6 separate regions of the Homo sapiens genome follow, and regions 2, 3, 4, 5 and 6 are each linked to region 1. Evidence: promoter capture Hi-C in human tissues and cell types (Jung and others, 2019). All regions are on one chromosome and are shown on one strand. The core of a region is centred on a gene start or on the middle of the fragment in contact, and the rest is flanking DNA. Distances in the headings are between cores, read along the strand shown. Region 1 holds the start of FSIP1 (fibrous sheath interacting protein 1). Region 2 overlaps EIF2AK4 (eukaryotic translation initiation factor 2 alpha kinase 4). Region 3 overlaps GPR176 (G protein-coupled receptor 176). Region 4 overlaps EIF2AK4 (eukaryotic translation initiation factor 2 alpha kinase 4). Region 5 overlaps FSIP1 (fibrous sheath interacting protein 1). Region 6 overlaps EIF2AK4 (eukaryotic translation initiation factor 2 alpha kinase 4).

Region 1 (4,770 bases), core at 1,571-4,070:
GCAGAAAAAACATCAAATAATACAGGTGAATATCAAAATGTTTTAAGTCAAAATTCGGCTTATCCCAAGAATTAGTGTTAATAGAGACTTGCAGGTCTCATTTTTTTAGGCATATGCAAACCTTCTATCTTTTATACCCATCGACTCCTCCCCAACGCAGACACACATACAAATGGCATGGTGCTTTGCAACTTGCTTTTTCACAATTAACAATCAATTTTGGCCAGGCGCGGTGGCTCACGCCTGTAATCCCAGCACTTTGGGAGGCCGAGGCGGGCAGATCACGAGGTCAGGAGGATCAAGAACACCCTGGCTAACACGGTGAAACCCCGTCTCTACTAAAAATACAAAAAAATTAGCCGGGAGTGGTGATGGGCGCCTGTAGTCCCAGCTACTCGGGAGGCTAAGGCAGGAGAATGGCCTGAACCCGGGAGGCGGAGCTTGCAGTGAGCCGAGATTGCACCACTCCGGCCTGGGCAACAGAGCGAGACTCCGTGTCAAAAAAAGAAAAAAAAATTTATTTTATCTATTTTTCTATATCACCATTTATAGATATACGTCATGCTTTCAAACAACAGCATAATATCCCATAGATGCAGCACTTTTTTCATCAGTTCACTTAGGTGGTATATAGAATATTTGCTATTAAAAGCAATTCTAAAACTTGCTCAAAATGTATCACAGACCTAAAGTAAAACTTCACACTATAAAATTTTCTTTTTGTCGTTGTTATTGTTATTGTATTTGTAGTAAAGACAGGTTTCACTATGTTGGCCAGGCTGGTCTCGAACCCCTGACCTCAAGTGATCTGCCTGCCTCAGCCTGTCAAAGTGCTGGGATTACAGGGGTGAGCCACCGTGCCTGGCCAAAACTATAAAATTTCTAAAAAATACATGTGACTGTGGGTTAGGCAAAAATTTCTTAGATACAACATCAAAGGCATGATTCATAAAAGAAAATATGGATAAATTGGAAGGCATCAAAATTTAAAACTTGTAGTCTTCAAAAGATGTTAAGACAAGGAAAACAAAACCCAAAGACTAGGAGCAAATATTTGCAAAACACATATCTGACAAAGGACTCATATCCAGAATATATAAACAAGTATCAAGACTCAATAACAAGAAAACAAAGGATTTGGACACACACATCACCCCAGATGATGTACGGATGGCAAAAGAGCACATGAAAAGATGTTCAACATCATTACCCCTCAAAAAAATAAAATAAAAATCACAATGAGATACCACTACACACCTATTCAAATGACAAAAATTAATTTTTTAGAAAACTGACAATACCAAGTGCTGACAAAGTTGGAGAGCAACTGTAACACTCATATTGCCAATGACAATGCAAAATCATCACTTTTCAAAACTGCTTAGCAGTTTCTTATAAAGTTAAACATATATTTACCATATGACTCCACAATCTCATTCATATTTACCCAAGAAATGAAAACATATTCACACACACAAAAAAAAACCTGTACATGAATATTTATACCAGCTTCATCAATAATAGCCAACAACTGGAAAGAACTCATCCAAATATGCCTCAAGTAGGAAATGGATAAATATACTACCGTAGATCCATACAATGGACTATTACTCAGCAACATAAAGGAACAACTGATACACAGAACATGAATGAATAGCAACTGCATGATGCTAAGCTGAAAGAAGCCTGATTCAAAAGGCCACAGGGTGTTTGCTTCCATCAATATGACATTCTGGAATAGGCAAAATTACAGGAACAAAAAACTAGGAAGTTGTTGCCAGGGATGGCGTTAGGGGAGGGATTAAATACAAAGAGCACTAGGGAATTTGGGGTTCATGATGAAACTTCCGTATGCTGATTGTGGTGGTTGGTAATTACATAACTGTATACATTTGTCAAAACTCACAGAACTGTAGATTAAATGGGTGAGGCTTACCATAAGTAAGTTATACCTCAATTTTAAGTTAATATATTTGTGCCAATCTTTCTTTAGTTATGCTCATACATCCATAAAATATATTAGAATTGCTGAGTCAAAGAACACTTATGTTTCAAATTTTGGTAGTTCGCCAAATTGTACTCCAAAAAGGCTGCACCAAATTACACTACTTCCCCTACACTGGGCTGGGGCCCATCTGGTTATGTCAAAGCTGTTTCATCTTCTCCAGTCTCATAGGTGTAAAAGGTATCTGTGAATTTGGTTTACATTTCTTCACGAGAAAAGTTGAGTCTCTAATCAATTGTTTGCTGTTTGCATCTTTTTATTTTTCCTGTGAAATGCCTATTTGCATCCTTTGCCGTTTACGGTCTAGTTTAAATGGCTGGTGATCAGTTCTAGATCTTGGTGGGAAGATCCAAATCTCGGGAAAGTAGAAGCCTTGGTTACAGGTCCTAATGTTAGGTGATTCCTGGAGAAATAGCCTCCGCGGAGGCAGAAGCCGCTGGGGCCCCGCCCCCAATGAGCCCGCCCCCGCCCTCTCATTGGCCCTGTCCGCTCTCCCTGACAGTCCATCTACATGCCAAGCGGCCCGACGCAGCTCCGCCCCGCCCACTCCTCGGCGCACCGCCCCGCGACCGAGCTCCGCCCTCATCTGCGCGGCCCCTCACCTTCCCGCCGGGCCTCCTCGAGGAACTGGCCGCCGTCAGTCAGGGCGCAGATGGCCGCAGAAGCGCGCCGCAGACACTCGCCGCGCCAGCCACTTACCCCCAGAGGAGAGGGGTCTCTCCCGCCACCTCAGCCTCTCTGGTAGTGGAAGAAGCCGCCGGTCCAGATCCCTCCTGCCTGTGGGACCGCTGTTTCCCTGGCAACCAGATGCGCGATGCTTCCGGTCTCGCGATAGCGGAAAGGGCTGTACCATCCGGAAATGGGACCGGGGCCGGCGGCTGTTGGAGCCCTGCGAGCTGGGACGGCCGGCGTGTGTCCTTCCGTCTTCGCTGCCGACGGTGGGGGTTGGGAGCGATTTTTCGTCTTTAGGTTGGATTCGGAACGCGGACGTCTGGATGCTTGTGTATCTCTGTCCCTCATATTGCTGTGATGCCTTACAGGTCAGTTATCCTCTCCGAGCACAGTTTCCTCCTCCGTAAAATGGGAACAATAATAATTCCCTTCTTACAAGACTTGTGCAGCTCAAAAAGACCATGTATGTGAAGCTCTAGTAAATTTGGGGTGCTATGGAAATTTTAAAAATATGAGTTTTGCACAGATTCGGCTACAGTCCAAAAAGAGTTATAATTGCTTTTTGCACCTTCTTTCATTTCGTAGTTTCTCTAATTCTCAGTGCACGAAAATTATTTCCCTACGTCCACAAACTGATTTTCCTCACCTCCATTGCCATCATTTCTCCTGCTTTCCAGTCTGAACAGCACATTACCGTTTACAGGGCATTTTCACATTCATGGCCCCTTTGTCCTCATTGTTTTAACTAGGTACGATGTGGTTTTTTTTCAGCGAAGCAAATAGTCGTAGGCTGAGTTGCCGAAAGAACACAGCTGCAGTCTAGGCGAGTGCTGGGTATAAAAACCTGGCTATAAATGCCATCCCTATGCTCCTGAATCCTGCATCTTATCACCAGCCCAGACTTCCCTGAACTCCAGACTCCTTTACCTAACTGCCTATTTGGCATATCCACTTAGATGTGTAAGCATCTCAAACTTAACACGGGAAAAAACAACTTCTCCAGAGTCCCCCACCCACTTTCTATCCATCTCAGCAAATGGTAATTTCAGCCTGCCATGCCTAGACCAAAAACCTTGGAGTCATCCTCAATTCTTCTTCCTCTCTCACTCTACAATCTATTTGTCCTATCAGCTCAACATTCAAAATATATTCAGAATCCAAACATTCGTCACAACTTCAGTGCTTCCATTCAGGTTCATACTGACATCATCTCTAAATGATAAGGCTTTCTGTTGGCTCTCTGACCTCCACTCCTACCTACTGCTTTCCCCTGGTAAACCTGGTTCCAGCCTCACTGTCCTCATTGTTAGTGTTTCTGTGCAGGGATTTCTTCCCAGCATTTCTCAGGGAATTTATGTGGCTTTCCAAATCTCAAAAGAAAAAAAGTTGCAAACTGAAGAAAATGGGAGAAAGTATCCTAATCCTCCTATGAGAATTAAAACTTAGCAGCCGACCTAGAGATGTTACTGAAGAAATTCACCAATGTCAAGTTGAAAACCAGCACAGGAAATGCTGAGTTCGAGGTTGAGGTGAACATTTTCAGGAACCAGGTCAGGAGCACTTGGGAGAGACATGGCCACAATCTCATCAGTCAGTCTTGTTTGTAGTTGGTGCCATGAAAGCCTATGTTCCTGGCCCTGTGTGCCGCTGGCAGTGAGTCATTCTTGCAAATAAAATATAAATAGGTTGATACTCATTGTATACTTTATACAAATTCTATGAGCAGTGTTCAAAAAAGTAACGGGTTTTGGATTCAAAGTAAATCCTTAAATTGACAGTTTCCAACCCATGATTCTGGGTAGTACAGTTAACCCTGCTAGGAGATCTATTATTTGAATACTCCTCAATAATGTTCTCTGTGTTTTCCAGCATTTGAATATTTGCTATAAACCCCACTTCTTGTAAACACTTCTAAATTTAATAGTTCTCATTTTTTAAACAAAGGCTTCAGATACTTGTAATAATGAGTAAAGAATATGAAGAAGGTAGAGAATATTTTAAGAATAAGATTTTGAGAACAGCTGGTAATTCTGATTTCCTGTTTCTGCATCCCAAAGATCAGTATCTGTCAGGAATTTGGAAACACTTGTTGT
Region 2 (4,751 bases), core at 1,901-4,400, 230 kb after region 1:
CTAGCCCCTACCTTCCAGGCTCAAGCAGTCCTCCTGCCTTGCTGCTTGAATAGCTGGGTCTACAAGCATGTGCCACTGACCCCAGCTAATTTTTTATTTTTTTGTAGAGATGGGGTTTCCCTATGTTCCCCAGGCTGGTCTTGAACTCTTGAGCTCAAGGGATCCTCCAACCTTGGCCTCCCAAAATGCTTGAATTACACAGGCATGAGCCACCACCCCAGCCAGTCTGAGTACTTTGGATATATATAATATAGTATTAAATTAGAGTATACTCTGACTATAACAGTGCAAAAAGAATGTATGAAAAAAAAATAAACTAGGAAGCCATATGCTAAATTCAATCCTTCCATTGTGTTAGGATGACAAATTGGTGGTAAGTTTCCAGATTTGGTCATGTACCAGTAATTGCTTTTATAATGAAAATAGTAATTTTTCTCCATATCCCAGGAAAGAAATTACAGTATTTATTTGAACCATACCATGTTATTGAAAGCAATACTCTTACACTGTGGGATCCCAGAAGATAAACTCAGTCAAGTCTACATTATTCTGTATGATGCTGTGGTAAGCATTTAATTACTTATGATGTTGAAAGATAATACCTTGATGTTGAAAGATAATAATAATAGTTCCTGATGATTTTCTTACCCATGCAGCCATGAAACTGAATTGGGAGCCTTATCTCCTTCCTTCATTGCTCTAAATTGAAAGAACCAATTGATTTTAATTATATCAACAGTTAACAAGTATTGGTTGAGCTTTTGTTCCATCCTCAGCCCTGTACTACTAATAACCTCCGGGGTGTTTTTTAAAAGGCTAACTTCTAATTTTAAAAGATCAAATTATTTAATTTGTCAGATAGTAAAGTTATTCACCAACCTACTTATTAAGGCAAATCACTAAGTAATTGGTCCTGATACTTGCCAATAATAATTTCAAAGATAGTTAACATTGACTGAGCCCCGCTCTGTGAGCTAGGCATTGTTCTGAGCTCCTCTGATGGATGAACTCACTTCATTCTCACACCAGTGCTGCTATTACCTTTCCTTTAGAGACCGAGAGCAACTGTTCATGTTGAGAATAAACAGTGTGCCTTGCCCTTGATTCTTCCAGTCTGCCTGTGCTTATCAGTAAAGTCATGTATAGATTTGCATTGATTGAATTAAGGCAGAATGGCTTCGAACTCTGGTGGGGCCTCATTTACCACCTCCTTCCTGTGGGACTGAGGCTATGGCACCTCCAGTTACTCTTCCCTAATTTAGTCACATCATAGTATTCATTACTTTATAGTATATGTGCGGGTACAGAGACTGGAAGGGGACGCATTGAAAAAATGAATTAGTGTTATATTATGATGCTAAGATGGAAGTGAATGCTTATGTTTTCTAATATCTTTTCATGTTAAGTTTTGTTTTCATAATGAATAAGAGGCATCCAGGAGATGTAAGAACTAACAGCACCAGAAGTCTATGGTTAAGACAGAGTAGTGGAAGTCCTCACATAATGGCTTATTGTTTTTATACACCAAAAGGATTAACTAGCTTTTCTTTCATCTGGCAGGTACACATCAATGGCCCAAACTTTACTGCTTGTTTCTTAGTGGTTCTTTACTCCCCCTAAAGCTCTGCTGCTGTTTGTCAGTGACAGATACAATATGATGTCAATCGGACACTGGCAGAAACCCCAGGGATTGTGCAAGGGGCTTCAGCTCTTACTGATTCATGTCCTGCGGCTACGGCACATCTGCCAGCGTGGGATGAAATGCCCAGAGCCTGGCCTTTGTTAGGGGAGCCCAGAGCAAAATGACTCCCTCCCTGCCCAAACAAATGCCCTCATTAAGCCTGTCCAGATTTGGGTCACCTCACCATTCAGCAAGTACAACTTTCCCCTTTTAATTCTTTTGTCAGGGTTTTTCAGATTTTAAAATAAGTTAATTACGGTTTTGTGTGAATTGGGAGAAAAAATTTTTTAATCACAGAATTCAATCTATCCTGTACCATTAGGAGCAGTTTGTTCAAAATGAAGGCTATACTTGTTAGAATTCGCCTGGAAATTGTGTCTTGTTCAGTGCCAGATTTCGCGACTCTCATTGTTACCTTTTTCTTCCACGTTAGACAGAGAAGCTGACGAGGAGAGAAGTGGAAGCTAAATTTTGTAATCTGTCTTTGTCTTCTAATAGTGTAAGTACCTTCTAATGGTATTATTACAGCTTTCTCTGTAATTTTGTGATACCAGAAAATGTCATCAAATTCTCGTTGCAGTAGGGTAGCAGCCAGCGCTTCCTACCACCTCGCAGATGCAGTTTTTCCCTTGAGTGTTAGGTACCATGGCAACCTCTGGGATTAGGAGAAGGGAGAAACTAATGCTGTGATCAAAGAATGTCTCTCCATGCTTCTTCTTGATACGCTGTAATCATCCTGCTCTTTCTTGATCAGCAGATACTTTTCTTTGTCACCCCTTATAGAGCTGTGCCTGGTAGAGCCTCCTGCTGAACATACCTAATACCAGTTGTCCTCTTTTGAATTAGATTATACAGGACTAGAAGGAGGCACAGAATTCTGCAAATTCATCTGGGGAGCTACCCTTCCCCTACCTCCATGTCTTCTAACTCCTCAGAGTTGAATTAAAGCTCTAGCTTTTCTGGTATATCTCTTAATCTTAAAATCTTACATTTGATCCCATCATCAATAAGGGAAATCTTATGGAATAAACAGTTTGGTCATATTCTCTCTGTAGGCATCAGATTGATCCCAGATCTTTGGTACAGTAACCCACACTTAATTGAGTAGCTGAACAACAGAATACAACAGGGATTTTGTACATTTTCCTGAATATTTAAATAAGGAAAGTTTTTTTTTAATTTCCCGGAACCTGTCTAGGCCCTTGTCTGACACTCAATTATATGATCTTGCATTGATCAGCAAAATTCACATATGGGATAGATTAAAATATGATTGTACACAGGGCAGGAAGAGTCACTCAATCTTTCGGACACCTACAGTGTGGCAGGCACAATGGCAGGGATATAAAGAAGAGTCCATAGACTGCATTCAGCTTCTTGGTTCATATTGGCCTTTAAAAAGCCATAAGGGGATATGCACAGCATGTATCTGCCCTCAACTCTGTAAAACAGCTTTCAGAGGGCACACGGAAACCAGAGTTCAAAGAAATCACCCCTTTGCGGGTAGGGAAAGTAAACCAGATGCATAGCACTAGGAGTTCTGAAAATTGAGCCAGGTTAAATCTTAAATATTTAATATTGGGGGAGATAGTAATGATATGCAAAGTAACACAACAGCTAAATATCCAAATATGAAGGACAATATACAGTATTTACATATAATCTAAACATGTACACAGCACACACCTATGTGCAGAAATAGTCCCATGTGTAAATAGCACAGAGAATCTGCACAAGACTGCTCAGTTCAATGATTCTATACCCAAGTTTCCAACCCAAAAGGTTATTTGGACTAAAGTCACATTTCAGAACATCTTTTTTTTTTTTTAAGAAAGTCTTATAAATATACATTCGGACGTAATAGCCACATTGGTTGTTCACATGTCAACTTCTTTTCTTTCTGTTAAATCTCTAACCACTGGTTATTCGATGATGCTAAGTGTTAATTAGACGTGTCTGATTCAGTTAAAAACAGAAAAATAGTATCTAATAAAGGCATTTGGTACTTTGATTATTTTAAAATGGACTCTAAGGGTATTAGGAAGGGGAGTAGAAATATTGCCAAAGAGTTTCACATATCTGACCCAGTCCTCTTATTTCACAAATGAGACACCTGAGGCCCAAAGAGATGTTGTGATTTGTCCTGAGTCACATGGAGTTAGTTGATGATAGGGTGAGGACCAAAATCTGGAGATATTGACTTCAGTGCTTCTGGTAGTTTATTATTGGGGTAATTTAATGTTCAAATTTATAGAGAAGAAATCATTTTTATTTTCTTAAAAAAATATTTTAAATCGAATACATGATTTTAAATTTAAATTTTTTTCTTTTTATTTTTTTGAGACAGGGTCTTGCACTGTCACGCAGGCTAGATTACAGTGGCACAATCATAGTTCACTGTAACCTCAAGCTCTTGGGCTCAAGAGATCTTTCTGCCTCAGCCTCCCACTTAATTTTTTTTTCTTTTTTATAGCGGGATAGCAGGCGTGAGCCATTGCATCCAGCCAAAATTTTTATCTTTAATCCCTCTATTAGTCTGCTGTCACACTGCTAATAAAGATATATCCGAGAGTGGGTAATTTATAAAGGAAAGAGGTTTAATGGATTCACAGTTCCACATGGCTGGGGAGGCCTCACAATCATGGCAGAAGGCACGGAGGAGCAAGTCACGTCTTATATGGATGGCAGAAGGCAAGGAGGAGCAAGTCACATCTTATATGGATGGCAGAAGGCAAAGAGAGAGAACTTGTGCAGAGGAACTCCTCTTTATAAAACCATCAGATCTCGTGAGACTTATTCATTATCACAAGACCAGCATGGGAAGGACCCGCCCCCACGATTCAATTACCTCCCACTGGGTCCCTCCCATGACACAGGGGAATTGTGGGAGCTACAGTTCAAGATGAAATTTGCATGGGGACACAGCTAAACCATATCATTCTACCCATGGCCCCTCCCAAATTTCATGTCCTCACATCTCAAAACCAATCATGCCTTCCTGACAGTCCCCCACAGTCTTAACTCATTTCAGCATTAACTCAAAAGTCCACAGTCCAAAGTCTCATCTGAA
Region 3 (4,711 bases), core at 251-2,750, 130 kb after region 1:
ATAAAACAAAAGTATATTCATTACAGAACCAGGGATATTTGGAGCTGTCTGGCAGTTCCTAAAAAGAAGAGTTACCATATGATATAGCAATTTCACTCCTAGGTATATACTCAAGAGAACTGAAAACACATGTCCACATAAAAACTTGTACGTAAATATTCAGAGCAGCATTATTCATAATTGCCAAAAAGTAGAAACAACCCAAATGTCTATCAAACGAATGGATAAACAAAATGTAATATATCCATACAATGAAATATGATTCAGCAATAAAAAATAAAGTGCTAATATATGCTAAAACATGGATGAATCCTGAAAATATTATGCTAAGTGAAAAAAGCCAGTCACAAAAGACCACATATTGTGTGACAGATCTATGGAACAGGTAAATTTATAGAAACAGAAAGTAGGGCCAGGCCTGGAGGCTAACACCTATAATCCCAGCACTTCGGGAAGCTGAGGTTGACGGATTGCTTGAGTCCAGGAGTTTGAGACCAGCCTGGGCAATGTGGCAAAACTCCATCTCTACAAAAAGTACAAAAATTAGATGGGCATGGTGGCACACACTTGTAGTCCCATCTATTCAGAGGGCTGAGGCTGCAGAATCACTTGAGCCCGGGAAGTGGAGGTTGCAGTGAACTGAGATCGCACCACTGTACTCCAGCCTGGGAGACAGAATAAGACCCTGTCTCAAAAAAAAAAAAGAAAAAAGAAAGAAAGAAGGAAAGAAACTAAATGAGTGGTGATTGCCTAGGGCTCAAGGTATTGAGGGGAAAAAGGCAGTGCTACTACCGAAGGATACATGGTTTCTTTAGGTTACATGGTTTCTTTATGGGATGATAAAAACCTTCTGGAATTCAGTAGTAGTAGTGGTTGCACTACTTTGTGAATATGCTAAAAAACCATCGAGTTGGCCGGGCGCGGTGGCTCACGCCTGTAATCCCAGCACTTTGGGAGGCCAAGGCAGGCAGATCACAAGGTCAGGAGATCAAGACCATCCTGGCTAACACGGTGAAACCCTGTCTCTACTAAAAATACAAAACATTAGCCGGGCATGGTGGTGGGTGCCTGTAGTCCCAGCTGCTCGGGAGGCTGAGGCAGGAGAATGGCGTGAACCTGGGAGGCGGACCTCGCAGTGAGCTGAGATAGCGCCACCGCACTCCAGCCTGGACAACAGAGTGAGACTCAGTCTCAAAAAACAAACAAACAAACAAACAAAAAACACCACTGAGTTGTACTCTTTAATTGGATGGATTCTATATTGTATGAATTTTATCTCAATAAAGCTTTTTTTAAATTTTCACCAGAGAATTTAATTTCCAGGAAGAATTCTATCATATAGACATCATATAGAAATAAAAGACAATGTGAGGCAATTTGATTCAATATATTAAGCTAGTAACTATTGATCCTACCACCTCCTGCCTCCTTAGGCATCAATTCAGGATATCTTATTCTTTTTTTTTTTTTTTTTTTTTTGAGAAGGAGTCTCACTCTGTCACCCAGGCTGGAGTACAGTGGCACGATCTCTGCTCACTGCAACCTCTGCCTCCTGGGTTCAAGCCATTCTCCTGCTTCAGCCTCCTGAATAGCTGAGATTATAGGCGCCTACCACCATGCCCGGCTAATTTTTGTATTTTTTACTAGAGACAGGGTTTCACCATGTTGGCCAGGCTGGTCTCGAACACCTCAAGTGATCTGCCCGCCTTGGCCTCCCAAAGTGCTGGGATTACAGGCATGAGCCACCACACCTGGCCCAGGATACCTTATTCTTAACGTAGTCTGCTAGGTTTTTAGGCATACAAAAGACAGAAACTCCATGTAGAAGTAAGGCTGTTGATATTATATTATTATTGGCTGTAAGTATTGTTAACTAAAAATGATCCTGAGTAATTACAAATTATAAGTGCAAACTAGTATTATAGTATTAACACATCTTCTATCAAACATTTAACTAAGGAACTCCAAGAATAATCCAGCTATTCTCTGGTTAATTTCAAATAATATCAAAAGCACAAGTATACTTCTCTATCAAACAAGTACCATGAACCTTGCTGGTACCCCATATGATTTTGCTCAAAGACTATAAGCAAGCATGAGCAAAACTAGTGTCTATCCAACAGATCTGCTGAACAGATTTAACAAGTCGATTTCCCACCTTTCCCTTCAAATGAATACTTCAATAACCACCTCATGGAATCAAGCCACAGGCAAGTTGGATCTTTACTTGGGGTCATCAATTTCACATGCTCACTACAGACCATTCATAAGTGTATTAGTCTGCTCCAGCTGCTATAACAAAATACCAAAAGCTGGGTGGCTTTAAAAATAGACATTTCTTTCAGTTCTAGAGGTTAGGAAGTCTGAGATCAGAGTGCTAACGTGGTTGGGTTCTGGGGAGGGCCTTCTTCCTGGTTTGCAAACAGCTGCCTTCTGCTATATCCTCACATGGTGCAAAGAAAGAGAGGGCAAGCTCTCTAGTTCCTTCTTATAATGTTACTAATTCCATCTTGAGAACTCTATCCTCATGACCTCATCTAAACCTAATTATTTCCCAAAGGTACTACCTCCTAATAACATGACATTGGGGATTAGGGCTTCAACATATGAATTTGAGGGGGAATATAAACATTCAGTCTATAAAGGAAAGGGAATATAGCTTAAGAATAAGAACCATACATTTTGCGGTCTAGCCAGACAAAGGAAAGCTGATTTCTCTATTTAAAAAATGTTAAAAATCAGCTGAGCGCAGTGGCTCACTCCTGTAATCCCAGAACTTTGGCAGGGTGAGGCGGATGGATCATCTGAGGTCAGGAGTTCAAGACCATCCTGGCCAACTTGGTGAAACCCCGTCTCTACTAAAAATACAAAAAAAAATTAGCTGGGCGTGGTGGCAGGCACCTGTAATCCCAGCTACTTGGGAGGCTGAGGCAGGGGGAATTGCTTGAACCCAGGAGGCAGAGGTTGCAGTGAGCCAAGATTGTGCCACTGCACGCCAGCCTGAGCGACAGAGTGAGACGCCATCTCAAAACAAAAAGAATTAAAAAATAAATTGCAATGTAGGATACATACTTGTGGGTTATTGCCCACCATGTTAATTTTCTTTAAATAAAAGCAAATTCATTTATAAAAATCTCTTATACCTCTGATGATGATTGCCACAGATGACAGGCAACCTGTGTAGGAGGAGCTCAGAGGTAATAGGCTAGATCATAGCCACCTACCTTTTTCAAGTCAAAGCACCAGAGAGGAGCCCAGTTCTCTTGGTACTTAGACTGTGAATCTAAGGAGAAGGGGAAAAAGAGAAATATTAACTCTGAGGAGTTCAATCCACCATTTCCAGTTCAATTGGAAATGGTGATTCCAGATCTTTTGGAGTCTTTGATTTCACACTCTTGACTACTAAAAGTGATTGGTGCCATTGAAGAGGAATCTAAATTATTTTACTCTATTTCAGTATCTACAACATACCTAAAGATATGCCAAGATGTTGTATAAAGAAGGCTGAGAAACACTGGTTTACGCAAACCCCCAAAATACATATTATTTGAATAATATTATGTACAAGCCTTGTGTTCATTTTCAACACAGCAAATAATGTTCCTTCTGGTTGGAATATTACAGTTATTCCAAGTTCTTAGGGATTTTTCCTAATACAAGACACTAAAACAGTTTTCAAAAAGAGGTACAAGACACCAGTAGTACAAATGAATTATTTTCACATAATAATGGTCCTCTGGAAATCCCAATAAAAAAGAAGTCTATTTAGAGAATATAAGAAGTATATTTAAATTTGTTTCAAGAGAAAAAAATAAAGAAAAACGAATTTGTCTATGTTTGGGGGCAGAAGAAATAAGAAAAGTAAGTTACTTAATCAGTTATTTTTTCCAGGTACTATTCCATCCTCCCACAATTTACTTTTCAATCATACAGATTCCTTTTCTTTTATTCCTAATCTATGATTTTTCTCTATTTGGAGGCTTTATGAAATGTGCTTCCCAAGTTTTCTTGCCTTGCTTCTGACTGCACATGGCTTTGAAACTTAAGCTCTGAGCCTCAACAGACATTATCAGAATTCTAATGTACACAGATGTGTTTGAATGGGACAAGTCCTTAGAAAACAATGAATCAAGAATACCAGTACGTAGGCAGGGCATCATGGCTCATGCCTGTGATCTCAGCACTTCGGGAGGCTGCGGTGGGTTGATCACCTGAGGTCAGGAGTTGGAGACCAGCCTGACCAACATGGTGAAACCCCATCTCTACTAAAAATGCAAAAACTTAGCCAGGCGTGGTGGCGGGCACCTGTAATCCCAGCTACTTGGGAGGCTGAGGCAGGAGAATCACTTGAAGCCGGGAGGCAGAGGTTGCAGTGAGCTGAGCTGAGATCCTGCCATTGCACTCCAGCCTGGGCAACAAGAGCGAAACTCCGTCTCAAAAAAAAAATAAAAATAAGTAACAGGTATACAGGGCAATGTTGTGATTGAACTTTTTTTTTTTTTTTTGGAGACTCCACTCTGTTGCCCAGGCTGGAGTGCAGCAGTGAAATCCCAGCTCACTGCAACCTAAGTCTCCCGGGTTCTAGCGATTCTCCTGCCTCAGCCTCCCGAGTGGCTGGGATTACACGTGCATGCCACCACATGCAGCTAATTTTTGTATTTTTAGTACAGTCGGGATTTCATCATGTTGGCCAGGCTGGTCTCAAACTCCT
Region 4 (4,629 bases), core at 374-2,873, 170 kb after region 1:
ATAAAGCACTAAAAATAAATAAATATTCACTGTGTATTTCAGACTCCCTAAATAGGTGGCAAAATTTAGAGTTTTATGTTGTCAGTAGATGATTTAGACTTACATAATTACTGTAATTTATCAAATGAGGGAGGGAAGAGATTGCGTCTTTAATAATTAACCTGGACTAAAATTGTTCTTTTTTTTGAGACAGAGTCTCATTCTGTCGCCCAGGCTGGAGTGCAGTGGTATGATCTCAGCCCACTGTAACCTCCACCTCCCAGGTTCAAGCAATTCTCATGCCTCAGCCTCCCGAGTATCTGGGATTACAGGCGTATGCCACTACGCCTGGCTAATTTTTGTATTTTTTAGTAGAGATGGGGTTTTGCCATGTTGGCCAGGCTGGTCCTCAACTTCTGGCCTCAAGTGATCCACCCACCTTGGCCTCCCAAAGTGTTGGGATTACAGGCGTGAGCCACTGCACCTGGCCTAGAATTCTTAATACTTGGAAAATAAAATGATTTGTTGATACTGAAGAGGGAATAGAAACCATATGGATCTGCCTGAAATTTCATCCAGTGATGAAAAAGAGTAATTCAACAGAGCAGATTTAAAAGGCAGTGGTGAAAAAGGATAGAGTGCTTTTTCCTTTATTTTTCCTGAGTCTAGCTCAAGCAAAAAACCAGTCAGACGTGTTTGGAGAAATTCAGAGAAAATTTTACTCATTCTCTTTTACATAAATTAGAGCATTAAACTTAAGGGACATGATGTGGTAGCAGGAAGAGGCACTGAAGCACAAGCAAGCTTCTCCTGGTTTAAAGCTTCAGCTTTCCTGCTGCCTCACTTTGTGACCTTGGCAAGGTGACATTCTCTGTGACTCTCTTTACTTGTCCCTTAAAATGGGACTGATAATGCCTTTCTTTCTGTCTTGTATAATTACCTCCACAGATAAGTGTACTGCCCTATGTGAAACTAAACCTGCGTAAAAATGTAAGATGAGATCCCTGTTTCCACCAGTGCTCCTGTCTTGCTCCTGACCTGCCTTCCTGTCAGCCACTCTCTGCCCTCTCTTTGATTCTCCCTTCTTCTGTTCATCTCCTGTTACTCTTCTCCCTAACTTTTTACACTATTGCAAGATTCTAAGCATTTTCATTTATAAAATTTACATTTTCTTGAAACCATAACCTGGACTTCAGTTCTTGAGCCAGTACATATTTAGGCATTAACATTTTTTTAATTTTATTTTTTAATTGACCAATAATAGTTGTATATATTCATGGAGTATATAGTGAAGTTTTGATACATATAATGTATAGTGATCGGATCAGGGTAATTAGCACATCCGTCACTGCAAATATTTAGCATTTCTTTGTGTTGGAAACATTCAATATCCTCCTTCTAGCTATTTTAAACGATTAAAAGTTAAGTTCAATTTTATTTCACTTGTAAACATTCAGCTTAAAATTTGCATTCTATACTGAATTAATAATTATGTACCATGATTTTCTTCCATGTATGACTTACATCTAAAGTAAGTTTTACTTTTCTTGTTCTAGGAACGTTTGGAAATTGCTAGTTTGTCAAACCAAGATCATACCTCTAAGAAGGACCCAGGAGGACACAGAACGGCTGCCATTCTACATGGAGGCTCTCCTGACTTTGTAGGAAATGGTAAACATCGGGCAAACTCCTCAGGAAGGTCTAGGTAAGTCCCTGGGATTTCTGATCTGGGAGAATGACAGATGTAGAAGGATTTTACTACATTGAAGATGTAGTGAAATTTGATGGAAATTTCAGGCGATAGTCTTAATAACTTTTTTCAAACCTTATATATCTTAATATATTAGCAATATATTAGGTGTATTTTTAGCAATATGAAACTAAATTGCGTTTAACACTTTCCAAGTATCTATCATGAATCTAGTTTTGTTGCTCATTCCCTTTTTTTTTTTTTTTTTTTGAGACGGTGTCTCGCTCTGTCACCCAGGCTGCAGTGCAATGGCACGGGCTCAGCTCACTGCAACCTCTGCCTTCTGGGTTCAAGCGATTCTCCTGCCTCAGCCTCCCAAGTAGCTGGGACTACAGGCATGTGCCACCACACCTGGCTAATTTTTGTATGTTTAGTAGAGTTGGGGTTTCACTGTGTTGGCCAGGCTGGTCTCGAACTCCTGACCTCGTGATCCACCCGCCTCGGCCTCCCAAAATGCTGGGATTACAGGCATGAGCCACCACACCCAGCCTCATTCCCCTTTATAACAGCCTATAACACATCACAAACTTGCCTTAGTACGATTTAACATTTATAAACTTAAATTCAGTAAGTGATTTTAAAATTTTTCTTCCATTTGAATCATCATCATCCAGTGTTTCAGTCTACAATGCCTTAGGTCCCACCACAGTTGTAAGGAGTGCCTGAAAATGAGCACAGGTGAGACATCTGTTACATGAGAGTAGGAACCCCAGTTGGCTGCCAGGGGTCCCCTCCCTAATACTGAGGTGGGCTCCTGGGCTGTTCCCTGTCACCACTGGTCACTTAAAAGATACTACTTGTTCTTCTATATCTTTTTCACTGAAGAATTCCAACTTTGCTCTCTATTTGCTGTGGCCCCCTGTACACCAGAAAGGAATTTTGGTGAAGAAACCATTTATGAGTGGGGTGGGTTATTAAATAGTGTAGGGACTTCAACCTTCATTGTATGTTTAAATTATCTCTTGTGAGACTCTAAGCACAACTTAAAACCACCACTTTGCTTCCATGAAAAGAAACATTTTAGGCACCAAACTGAAGATTTATATAAACTTCTGTATAGTTTGTTTATTAGAAGGAGCCATTTTAGTTCTTTCCCTAATTATCTACTACTAAAAAAACAGTTCAGAAATCATTTTGACACTAATGTTTACCTACTATTAGGTTTAACTAAATTTTTAAAAAAATACTGTTTCTGGTAACCATTCCTTTTTAAGATTATAACTCCTTCCCAATTTAAATTATTTTTGAATCTGGGCTTCTAATAAGCAACAGAGTTTGAAGTTGTCAGAGAATTTCACTAGGAAATATCTAACAAATTTTTGTTGTATTAGAACCTTTGAATTAAATCAATGATATAAATAAGTCTTTTCAGATATATGGAAGATGATTGTTTTAAGTTTAAACATTTCTATTTTTGTGGCTAACTATAAACAGTGAATCCAAGGTTAGGCTTGTTTTTGAGATCAGAGATAGCACGCTGGGCACGGTGGCTCATGTGTGTGACCCCAACACTTTGGGATGCCAAGGCTGAAGGATCACTTGAGCCCAGGAGTTCAAGACCAGCCTGGGCAACAAACTCCTTCCCATCTCAGAGCCTCTGCCGACCCCTCTGCCTGGACTACTCAACCTCTGGCATTTTGCTTGCTGAGCCCCTCCTTCTCATTCAGTTCTCCCCTCAAATGCAACCTTCTCAGGGATGCCTTCCTGAGCCCCCCTCTACCCTATTTCCCTGCTTTGTCCCTTGCTCTCCAATTCTCTGCTTTATTTTTTACATAACACTTAGCACTAGCTGAAATTGTTATTCACTTGTTTACTTTGGAATGTGAGGTCTGTGAGAGCAAAGCCCTCATCTGTGTTTTCCTCAAAGCCTGAAATCGTGCCTGGAAGACACATGGTAGGTGCCTGGTCAACATCTGATGCAGGGAGGGAGCCAGGGAGGGAAGATGACACAGGGAAAGTGGGACACTGTGTTTCTGGTGTTTGTAGGGTCTACAGCCTCTTTAACCAGGGCAGTTTTGCTTCTCTTGATCTGTGGGGTATGTAAAAAACCAGTGAGGTTTTATTTAACAAAAGATGTTCACGCTGAAAAGAAGAGAAAGAGAGAAAAGAGAACCACTCACTATTCTAGTGGAAAGAACGTAAAGGCCTGATACTCAAAGGCTTTTCACTGATGAGTCTTGGCTTTTGTTGAAGAACTTTATTTTCTGTGCTTCAAGTCTTCTTTTCCCACCTTGAAGGATTCACTTTTTAGAATATTAAGGTAAAAATCAAAAAACATAAAATTAGCTATTTTAATGTGTACAGTTCAGCGTGAGGCTGTATTTGTGAAGTGCAGACATAGTCCCCCCAACCCACTGCCTTGTTTCTGGGATGTTGCTCCTCATAAGTGGGCAATATGAATTTTGTAGAAGAAGCAAAACTAAAAAACCAAAAAACCTCTATAAAATAGCTCATGGTAGAAAATTACCTTCACATATTCAGACTTGCTGTCTTTGCAGATTACCGTAGTGTAGCCCAGAATCTAGAATATATCACCTATTTATATCTACCATCAACAAGATTAGGTTATCTAGTTTGTTTTCCCTATTCTAAAGCCAGGTATGGTAACTGCTGGCTCCTCACCCTTACAGAGAAGAGATCATTAAGGGTATAAGACATGGGATTCTCTCTGCTCTCCTCAAAAAACTTGGGGAACCATTAAAGTATAAAGGTGTAGGGGAGAGAGGATCCTTGATACGTCTCTCCAGACATGGTCCTCTGTTGTTCAGTTTCTGTGGTTGGTTCCATGGAGGCATAGACTGGTTTACCTCAAATTAAACAATATCAGGAATTCTTACTAATGTTGTCTCTACAAAGTGGCTCTGTGTTTCAAATTAAGGGACCTAGAACTAGCATTTTCT
Region 5 (4,688 bases), core at 1,632-4,131, 170 kb before region 1:
TTTGCTGGGCATGGTGGTGCGTGCCTGCAGTCTCAGCTACTCAGGAGGCTGAGGCAGGAGAATCGCTTGAACCCAGGAGGCAGAGGCTGCAGTGAGCCAGGATCATGCCACTGCAGTCTAGTCTGGGTGACAGAGCAAGACTCTGCCTTAAAATAAAATTAAATTAAAATTAAAATAAAACAAAGACAAAGAATCCTGAAAGCAGTAAGAGATCAGGAATGTATAATATTCAAGGGAGTCCCAAAACAGCAACCAGCAGATTTCTCAGCAGAATCCCTGCAAGCCATAAAAGGGTGGGATAATATAATCAAAGTGTAGAAGAAAAACAAAACTGGCAACCAAGAATACTTAACTCAGCAAAGCTATTCCTCAGAAATAAGGGATAAATAAAAACTTTCCCAAACAAACAAAAACTAAGTAAGTTTATCACCACTAGGCCTGCCTAACAGGAAATGCTAAAGGGAGCTAAGCTGAAATAAAAGGCTCCTAATTGATACATAAAACTTATAAAAGCAAAAAGCACTAAATGGTGTAAGTAAGACATAGTCATATTCAGAATAATACTGTAAGGATGATGTGTAAAGGAATTTTCTCTGTATTATGAGAGTTAAAAAACAAAACTATTAAAAACAAATGCAGCTATAATAAATTGTTAAAGGAATCCAAATTACAAAAAGATGTAAAATTTACATCTAAATCATAAAAGTTGTCGGGGGGAGGGCGTTAAAGTATTGAGATTTTATATGTGATAAAAGTTATCAGCTTAAAATAGCCTGTTATAATAAGATATTTTGTTGTTGTTTTTTTTTATTTTTTAAGGAGATGGAGTCTTGCTATATTGCCCAGGCAGGGCTCAAACTCCTTGGCTGAAGTGATCTTCCCACTTCATCCTTCCAAGTAGATGGGACTACAGGTATGCACAACCATGCCCAGCCTGTACAAGATGTTTTATATAAACCTGATGGTAAACACAAATAAAAACCTGTAATAGTTGCACAAAATATAAAAGGAAAAGATTCAAAGCATACCATCACAGAAAATTATCAAACCACAAAGGAAAGTAGCAAGAGAGGAAGAAAGAAACAACAGCTCTACAAAACAACCAGAAGCAAATTACAAAATGGCAGTAGCATGTCCTTACCTATCAGCAATTACCTTGAATGTAAATGGATTAAAGTCGCTAGTCAAAACACATAGAGTGGCTGAATGGGTTGAAAAAATAGTAATAAAAGGCCAACTATATGCTACCTGTGAGAGACTCACTTTACTAGTAAGAAAATACATGGACAAAGTGAAGGGATGGAAAAGTTACTCCATGCAAATGAAAACCAAAAGAGAGCAGGGGTTAGCTATACTTATATCAGACAAAATAGACTTTAAGTCAAAAGCTACACAAAGAGACAAAGAAGGTCATTATATAATGATAAAGGGATCATTTCATTAAGAGGACATAATTGTAAACATATACACACCCAACACTGGAACACCTAAATACATAAAGCAATTATTACATGATCTGAGAGATAGACTGCAATAGTATAAGAGTAGGGGACCTCAATACCCCACTTTCAATGATGAAGAGATCATCTAGACAGAAAATCAATAAGAAAACATTGGACTTGAATTACACTTTAAATCAAATGGACCTCACATTCATATACAAAACATCACACCCTACAGCAAGAAAATACACATTCTTCTCAAGCACACATGGGACATTCTCCAGGATAGGCCACAAAACAAGTCTTAATGAACTCAAGAGGATTTTAATCATATCAAGTATCTTTTCTGATCACAGTGGCATGAAACTAGAAATCTATAACAAGAAATCTTGGTGAATTCACAAATATGTGGAAATTAAACAACATGCTCCTAAACAAACAATAGGTCAGAGGGGGGAAAAAAGGAAATCAAACTATATTTTGAGACAAACAAAAATGGAAACACAACATATCAAAACTAATGGGATGCTGACAAAAGCAGTTCTAAGTGGGAAATATAAAACAATAAATGCTTATTATCAAAGAAAAAATCTCAAATAAACAATCTAATGTTAAACCTCAAAAAACTAGAAAAAGAACCAACTAAGTCCAAAGTTAGCAGAAGAAAGAAAATAACAAATATTAGAGCCAAAATAAACAAAATGGAGACTAGCAACAATAGAAAAAATCAACAAAACTAAGAATTGGCTTTTTGAAAAGATAAACAAAATTGACAAACCCTTAGCTAGACTAACTAGGAAAAGAAAGAAAGAAAACTCAAATAAATCAAATCCTCTGAACTCATCACACCATCATGTAATGGGAAGATAATGATTATGACCATATTTTTGTCTCATGATAGTTTTAGCTTATACAAAAAGTCTTAATATAAACGACCAAAAATAAAGAAATGCTTAAATTATGATACATCATAAGATACATTGCAGCCATCATAATGAATGATTTAGAAGAATATTTAATAACACAGAATGCTCAAAATATAAAAGAAAAAAATATCAGAATATATTATAAGAAGAATATGAAGACAATTTAAAATACACAACTAGAAAAAAGATGAATGTTAATATTAACAATGAATAGGTCTGGACAATGATTTTATCTTCTACACTTTTCTGTATGTTTCAAATAGCCTTCAACAAATTTACATTTGTTGTGCGATTAGAAAGCAATAACAAATACTTTTTAAAGTCTTTAAGCTCAAAACTTCTGCTTATTTAAAACAAAACGAAAATGAAATGAAAGAGGAGACATTACAACTGATACCAAAGAAATACAAAGGGTAATTATGTAAAATTATATGCCAACATATAATAACCTAGATATTTTATTGGATAACCTAGATGTGAACAGATTCCTGGACACATACATCCTGCCAAGGCTGAATCATAAAGAAACAAAAATCTGAACAGACCACTAATGAGCAAGGAGGTTGACTCAGTAATAAAAAGCCTCCTATCAAAAAAAGGCCCAGGGCCAGATGGCTTTACTACTGAATTCTACCAAACATTTAAAGAAGAACTAATACCAGTGCTTCTCAAACTCTTCCAAAAAACTGAAGTGGAAGAAAGCCTTCTGAACTCATTTTACAAGACCAGCATTACCCAGATACCAAAGCCAGAGAAGAATACCACAAGAAAAAAAAATTGCAGGCCAATATCCCTGATAAACACAGATGTGAAAATCCTCAACAAAGTACTAGCAAACCGAATTCAAAAGCAATTAAAAGAATCATTCACATGATCAAATGGGCTTTATCCCTGGTATGCAAGGATGGTTCAGCATATGCAAATTAATAAGTGGGATATACCACATTAATAAAATGAAGGATAAAAACCATATGATAATCTCAATAGATGAAGAAAAAGCATTTGACAAAATTCAACACCATTTCATGATAAAAATTCTCAACAGATTAGGTATAGAGGTAAAGTACATAATAAAGGCCATATAAGATAAATCTGTAACTAACATCATACTCAACGGTGAAAAGTAGAAAGCTTTTCCACAAGGATGCCCACTCTCACCACTTTTTTTCAACATAGTACTTAATGTCCTGGCCAGAGTTACGCAAGAAAAACAAATAAAAGGCATCCTAATAGGAAATGAAGAAATGAAACTATCTCTCTTTGCTGATGACATGATCTTGTATATAGAAAATGCTAAAGACTCCACCAAAAAACTGTCAGAAGTGACAAAAAAAAATCAGTAAAGTTACAGGATATAAAATCAACATACAAAAATCAGGAGCATTTCTATACATTAAGAACAAACTATCTAAATAGGAAATTAAGAAAACAATCCCATTAACAATTGTCTCTAATAAAAAAAATTAACCAAGGAGGTGAAAGAACTATATATTGACAACTATAGAACACTGATGAAAGAAAGTGAAGAAAAAGCAAATCAATTAAAAGATGTCCCATGTTCCCAGCCTGGCCCACATGGTGAAATCTCGTCTCTACTAAAGATAGAAAAAATTAGCCGGGCGTGGTGGCACGCACCTGTAATTTTGGCTACTCGGGAGGCTGAGGCAGGAGAATCGCCTGAACCCAGGAGGCGGAGGTTGCAGTGAGCCAAGATCATGCCATTGCACTCCAGCCTGGGTGACAGGGCAAGACTCCATCTCAAAAAAAAAAAAAAAAAAAGAAGATGTACCATATTCATGGACTGAAAGAATTAATGGTTAAAATGTTCACACTATCCAAAGTCATCTATAGATTTAATGCAATTCCTATCAAAAATCCAATGTCATTTTCACAGAAATATAAAAGAAACAATCCTTAAATCTGTATGGAACCACAATAGACCCTGAATAGCCAAAGAAATCTTGACCAAAAAAGAAGCTGGAGGTATCACACTCCTTGATTTCAAAGTATAACACAATTATAATTGCAACAACATGCTACTGGCATAAAAACAGATAAGTCAATCAACAGAACAGGACAGAAAGCCCAGTAATAAACTCATGCATTTATGGTCAATTGATTTTTGACAAAGATGTCAAGAATGCACAATGGGGAATGGTGTTGGGAAAACTGAATATCCATATGCAGAATAATAAAATTTGATCCTTATCTCACTCCATGTATAAAAATCAACTCAAAATGGATTAAAGACACAAATATAAGACCCAAAACTGTAAAACTACTAGAATAAAACAGGGGAAATGCTCCATGACATTGGTCT
Region 6 (4,520 bases), core at 1,374-3,873, 160 kb after region 1:
ACATAGAAATACTCAAATTTCACACTGAACAAATAAACACTATAACTAACCTCATGTCAGTTCAGGCTAAATTTGCTGCCAATAAATTCAGGTTAGATTTTTTTTTCAACTTCTTTTAGTGGGGATGTGTTGTAATATAAATTTCAGTTTAGTAGCATATGTATATCATTTATAAATAACATTTTGAGGTGCATGCTAAAAACTTTTGCATTTGTAAAAAGTTTAGACACTGCTAGTTTAAAGTATCTATAATTTATAGATAGTTACAAATTACTAACTTATTTTGGCTAGCTTTCCACAGCAGCAAAAGGTCTGCTCATTTATAATTTGATAGCTTTTGGAAACATCCCTCCAAAAAACTTGCTTCAATCCCTGGATCCCCCAGTAGTGTATGGTGGTGTTTGTTTTCCTTTATCTTCAACAATACTATATATGTTAGACTTTTTCATCTTTGCCACATAAATGAAACATATCTCATTTTAATTTTTATTTATTTATAAATTATCTAGAACACCTTTGTTTACAAACCATTGATTTTTCTTTTTCTGTGAACTGCTCATACTCTGGTTTATTTTTCTACTCTGTGGTCCATTTTCTTGTTTATTTGTAAGAGCTAAATATCTTAAGAAAACTAGCATTTTGGGTCATATAATGCATATATTTTTCTCCTAATTATATGCATTTATTTACGTAATTTATGTGATTTAAAAAATGTTGATAGAGTCAAAATGACCTTTTTTTTCTTTTATGGTCCCTGTGGGTTTTTTTTCCCCCTCTGTTCCAATGTTACTAAAAACCAAATTCGTCAAAGTTTACTTTTAACTTGTTCATGACTTCGTTTTTAAATTTTCATCAAATAAAGATATAAGTAGGTTTTTTTTTTTAAGTTCTTCGTTCCATCAAAGTACGGGCCTAGGCCACCTCCCCGTGTGCATCCCTCCTCCTCCAGCTAGGCAGCTAGACAAATATAGGCAATTGAATTTTTCAGTGTCTTCCACTCATTTGAAATGCCATTCCTACAAGCCCAGTGCCTGGTAAAACAAACAAAAAACTTTCAAAAATTGTTACTGAATGAAATAATTCTCAAATGTATTTCAAGTCTCTTTTTTTCCTTGCCTGGAATGCTTGGTCTCTTGGCTTGTCTCAGCTTCAATGCTACATCCTCAGATAGTTCTTCTTTGATAACCACATTTAAGTATATACCCTCACACCCCAAGTCGTTTGTTAAGGAGAGCACCACGTCATCTCTTCAACGGCACTCTCTAAGCTTGTACTTATGTGTTTATTATGTTTGTTTTCCCCCACCAGACTGAAGTTCCATGAGAGCTGGAACCATATCTGTGTTCTCACCTCCGTGGACTAAGCACAGTGCCTGACACAGAGTCAGTGCTTAGCAAATATGGGTGATGGATGTGTGATGGGTGAATGAGTGGATGAAAGACCTGTGGACCAAAGAGTGCTTAACCCTTCCCCAGACCACATTCGCAGAATTATGCTTTATGGAAGGACCCACACATTTATCAAGGATTATTATAAAGCCATATAAGAACTGATCTTACAAATTTTGTACACATAGTAGAAGAGTACAGTGTTTATTATATGGTACTCCTTGTAAGGTTCACGTTATAAATTTCTGTTAGAATTTAGTATTATAAGTACTTTGCTTCCCTAAAATAATTTTTAGGCTTTCTCTTTTCTGATGATACCACGTTTCTCTTTTTGCCCTGCCTGCCAGGACATTCAGAGAAAAAAATCAAGGCTCAATCCCAGCAACTTAGGATGGCATAATAAAAGAGTGGCTTATGGGAGGAGACAGGGTTTGGAGTTAAGGCTGGGTTTGAATCCCAGCTCTGTCCCTGTGTATCTGTAGGCAAGAATGTAAAACTCCCTGAGCCTGAGCTTCTGTATCTGTAAAATGGAGATGACACCTGCCTTGCAAAGTTGGTAAGGTGCCTGGACCATGGGAGCGCTCAGCCATTGTTTTTTCTCTCAGACTCCCCTTGTTCATTATATACATATAATATGAACTACTTCAAATCCACTTTGGAAAAAGTGTATCTAAATTGAAGAACAAGGGTATTTTGCGATTTGGTGAAAAGTAGTTGATTGAAAACATATGCAATTCTCTCCTTGTCAAGGGTTTTCATTTGTTAATATCTCAGTATTCAGATCTCAATTCAAATCTCCCCTGCTCGCAGAGTCCTTCACTGACCTACCTGTCCAGATACCTTCTCCTCGCCCACCACTATGTCCCTCTACTCTGCTTTGTTTTCTTTACAGCACTCATCACTATTTGAAATCACTCGTCTTCTAGTTTGTATCAGCTGGTTGGGACTGTGTCTGTCTAAATTTACCCCTGCACTCCCAGCTTCCAGGAGAGCACCCAGGCATAATAACTCAGTAACATCTGAACGAATGGAAGCTGAGTGGAACATTTTGGTTCATTCCTTAGATAACTTAAAAAAGGAAAGTGCATTTTCACTGGCTTAGGTTTTGTTTTTAAATCATGCTTTTGGAAAGTATGCCAGATTATCTATTTAAAATATAATTACAAATATTTTTAAAGTAGAACTTTTGATCTAAAATGATCATTATCTTAATCATTAATGATTGGCTCTACAGCTTTGAAAAAAATTTTTTTTGTTTTTCCTCTTTTAGGTCAAAGAGCCCCCTGAAATCAATTTAGTTTTGTACCCTCAAGGCCTAACTGGTGAAGAAGTATATGTAAAAGTGGATTTGAGGGTTAAATGCCCACCTACCTATCCAGATGTGTGAGTACATTTATAAATAGCTTTGACGTGGTTTCAGTTTTCTGTTTTGACAACATAGAAACAGATTGAAATTCGTAGTATTTTCTCCTTCCTGCTCCCATTCCACATAAAATTTCATTTCCTCTATTTCAACAAAACTACATCAGCAATAGATGTTTTCATGAAACCTGTCTCATTTTAAGCCTGTTCATAGTTATAGAATTGTCACTACAGATACTTATATTTGCCTAGTGACTATTTTGCTTCCTCTGATGTGTTAACTTTTGTTTATTTATTTCTTCATAAGTTAGGAAGAGGAAAATTTGGAAGAAAACAATAAAGGCATGGTGACTGTTGAAAGCCCTTGCATAGTTAGAGTGTGGCTGGTATTAGAAATTCAGCAAGTCTGTGCCTCAGATGACCTTTCACTGCCTAGAGTGAGGGAGAGTATTTGGATCTGTCCTGCCTCTCAATGGGGCACTCTGGCGAGTGTCCATTGTGCAGGGCTGTGCTGTGCACTGCAGTACGTTTAGCATCCCTGGCCCCCACCTACCAATGCCACGAGTGTCCTCCAGGCATTGAAACAACCAAATAACCTACATATTTCCAGACTCCCTCTGAAGGTGATGTCACCTCTGGTTGAGAAAAACTAGTTAGAGCCAAAGTGTTAGCCATCAGCACTTAAGCATGTCTATTTGGTGTAATCTTTCCCCACCCATCCCACATGGAAAGGCAGGTTGGCCTGGATGGCGTTAAGTAGTTTGAAATTATTGTATGGGGAACCAGTGAAGGTTTTTGAGATGGAAAGGGACAAGTAAAAGGAAACTCTGCTTTACACAGTGGGTGGTAAATTTATGGAATTTATTATCCTAAGAAGTGATAGGGAGGATATGAAAAGACAGATAAGTCAAAATTGAGCTCCTTGAAGTCAGTAACCATTCTTGGCCCCCAAAACTGTCCTGAGAGTATTATAGTAGGTATACTATACATACTATAAAAATATTAATTAACGAAACGTTAATTATAAAACATTAATGAAAAAGATAATTAAAAATTTATGAAAGGAAATTAAAAGAGTGCCTCTCTAGGTTGTTTTTTTTTCCTGACACCAAATACATGATGCCTTTTCTGATACCATGTGGGTGTCCAGTAGTTCAGTTCAATTCTGACACTATCTGTAGTTAGCAAAGACCCCACAGATTAAGGACCCAGTTCCACAAGATTGCCTCCATTTCTGATGCTAGTGGCAAGTCCCAGTACTTCTGACCATTTATAGCCAGTATTTATAACTGGCTATAAATTTAGGGGTTTCCACCACCCCCTCCTAAGTTGCGATAATTGCTAGAATGCATCACAGAACTCAGTTTCTGTGAGTTACATTTACCAGTTTGTTGTAAAGGATATGGCTCTGGAATAGCCACATGGAAGTATTATGAAGGGTAAGGTGTGTGGGAAGAGGCACAGAGCTCCCATACCCTCTCCAGGCCTGGCACCCTCCCAGCACCTCCCTGTGTTCTTCAACCAAGAATCTCCCTGAACCCTGTCGTTTAGGGGTTTTTATGGAGGTTTCATTATGTAGAGATGATTGATTAATTAAATCTTTGGCCACTGGTGATTGAACTTGATCTTCAGCCCCCTACTCCTCCCTAAAGATCTGGGATGGGGCTGAAATTTCTCACCCTGTAATCAAGGCTTGGTTTTTCTGGTGACCAGTCCTGATCCTGAAGCTATCCAGGTACTGACCAGAGTTCCCTCATGAGTACTAACTCC

What was found. The method cuts DNA at HindIII sites, captures the fragments that hold promoters and counts their contacts. A contact is called where the count stands out against the background at its distance.
Region 2: a fragment that was not itself captured here is called in contact with the fragment with the promoter of FSIP1 in region 1 in 1 of the 25 tissues and cell types used here (dorsolateral prefrontal cortex).
Region 3: a contact is called between a fragment that was not itself captured here and the fragment with the promoter of FSIP1 in region 1, in 1 of the 25 tissues and cell types used here (dorsolateral prefrontal cortex).
Region 4: a contact is called between a fragment that was not itself captured here and the fragment with the promoter of FSIP1 in region 1, in 1 of the 25 tissues and cell types used here (IMR-90 fibroblasts).
Region 5: a fragment that was not itself captured here is called in contact with the fragment with the promoter of FSIP1 in region 1 in 1 of the 25 tissues and cell types used here (IMR-90 fibroblasts).
Region 6: a fragment that was not itself captured here is called in contact with the fragment with the promoter of FSIP1 in region 1 in 3 of the 25 tissues and cell types used here (H1 embryonic stem cells, IMR-90 fibroblasts and hippocampus).

The regions. Positions count from the first base shown.
Region 1 is chr15:39,780,021-39,784,790 of GRCh38, forward strand. It overlaps FSIP1 (fibrous sheath interacting protein 1), which reads right to left and starts at 2,821. Exons shown (of 12, transcript NM_152597.5): 1 at 2,608-2,821. LOC105370941 (a long non-coding RNA gene) reads left to right here and starts at 2,886. Exons shown (of 1, transcript NR_135665.1): 1 at 2,886-4,770. RefSeq lists a silencer at 2,451-2,630 and an enhancer at 2,931-3,060. The HindIII fragment of the contact is 15,521 bases long and covers 1-4,770 here.
Region 2 is chr15:40,009,167-40,013,917 of GRCh38, forward strand. EIF2AK4 (eukaryotic translation initiation factor 2 alpha kinase 4) reads left to right here. Exons shown (of 39, transcript NM_001013703.4): 26 at 448-564; 27 at 2,115-2,180. Among named protein-coding and RNA genes, the nearest start is that of SRP14, 28 kb to the right of the region's middle. The HindIII fragment of the contact is 7,249 bases long and covers 1-4,751 here.
Region 3 is chr15:39,912,853-39,917,563 of GRCh38, forward strand. All of the region lies in intron 1 of GPR176 (G protein-coupled receptor 176), which reads right to left. Among named protein-coding and RNA genes, the nearest start is that of GPR176, 5.1 kb to the right of the region's middle. The HindIII fragment of the contact is 5,160 bases long and covers 1-4,080 here.
Region 4 is chr15:39,954,085-39,958,713 of GRCh38, forward strand. EIF2AK4 (eukaryotic translation initiation factor 2 alpha kinase 4) reads left to right here. Exons shown (of 39, transcript NM_001013703.4): 6 at 1,536-1,684. Among named protein-coding and RNA genes, the nearest start is that of EIF2AK4, 22 kb to the left of the region's middle. The HindIII fragment of the contact is 5,820 bases long and covers 1-4,533 here.
Region 5 is chr15:39,610,517-39,615,204 of GRCh38, forward strand. All of the region lies in intron 11 of FSIP1 (fibrous sheath interacting protein 1), which reads right to left. Among named protein-coding and RNA genes, the nearest start is that of THBS1-IT1, 27 kb to the left of the region's middle. The HindIII fragment of the contact is 5,221 bases long and covers 272-4,688 here.
Region 6 is chr15:39,936,847-39,941,366 of GRCh38, forward strand. EIF2AK4 (eukaryotic translation initiation factor 2 alpha kinase 4) reads left to right here. Exons shown (of 39, transcript NM_001013703.4): 2 at 2,659-2,771. Among named protein-coding and RNA genes, the nearest start is that of EIF2AK4, 5.0 kb to the left of the region's middle. RefSeq lists an enhancer at 3,076-3,165. The HindIII fragment of the contact is 4,750 bases long and covers 249-4,520 here.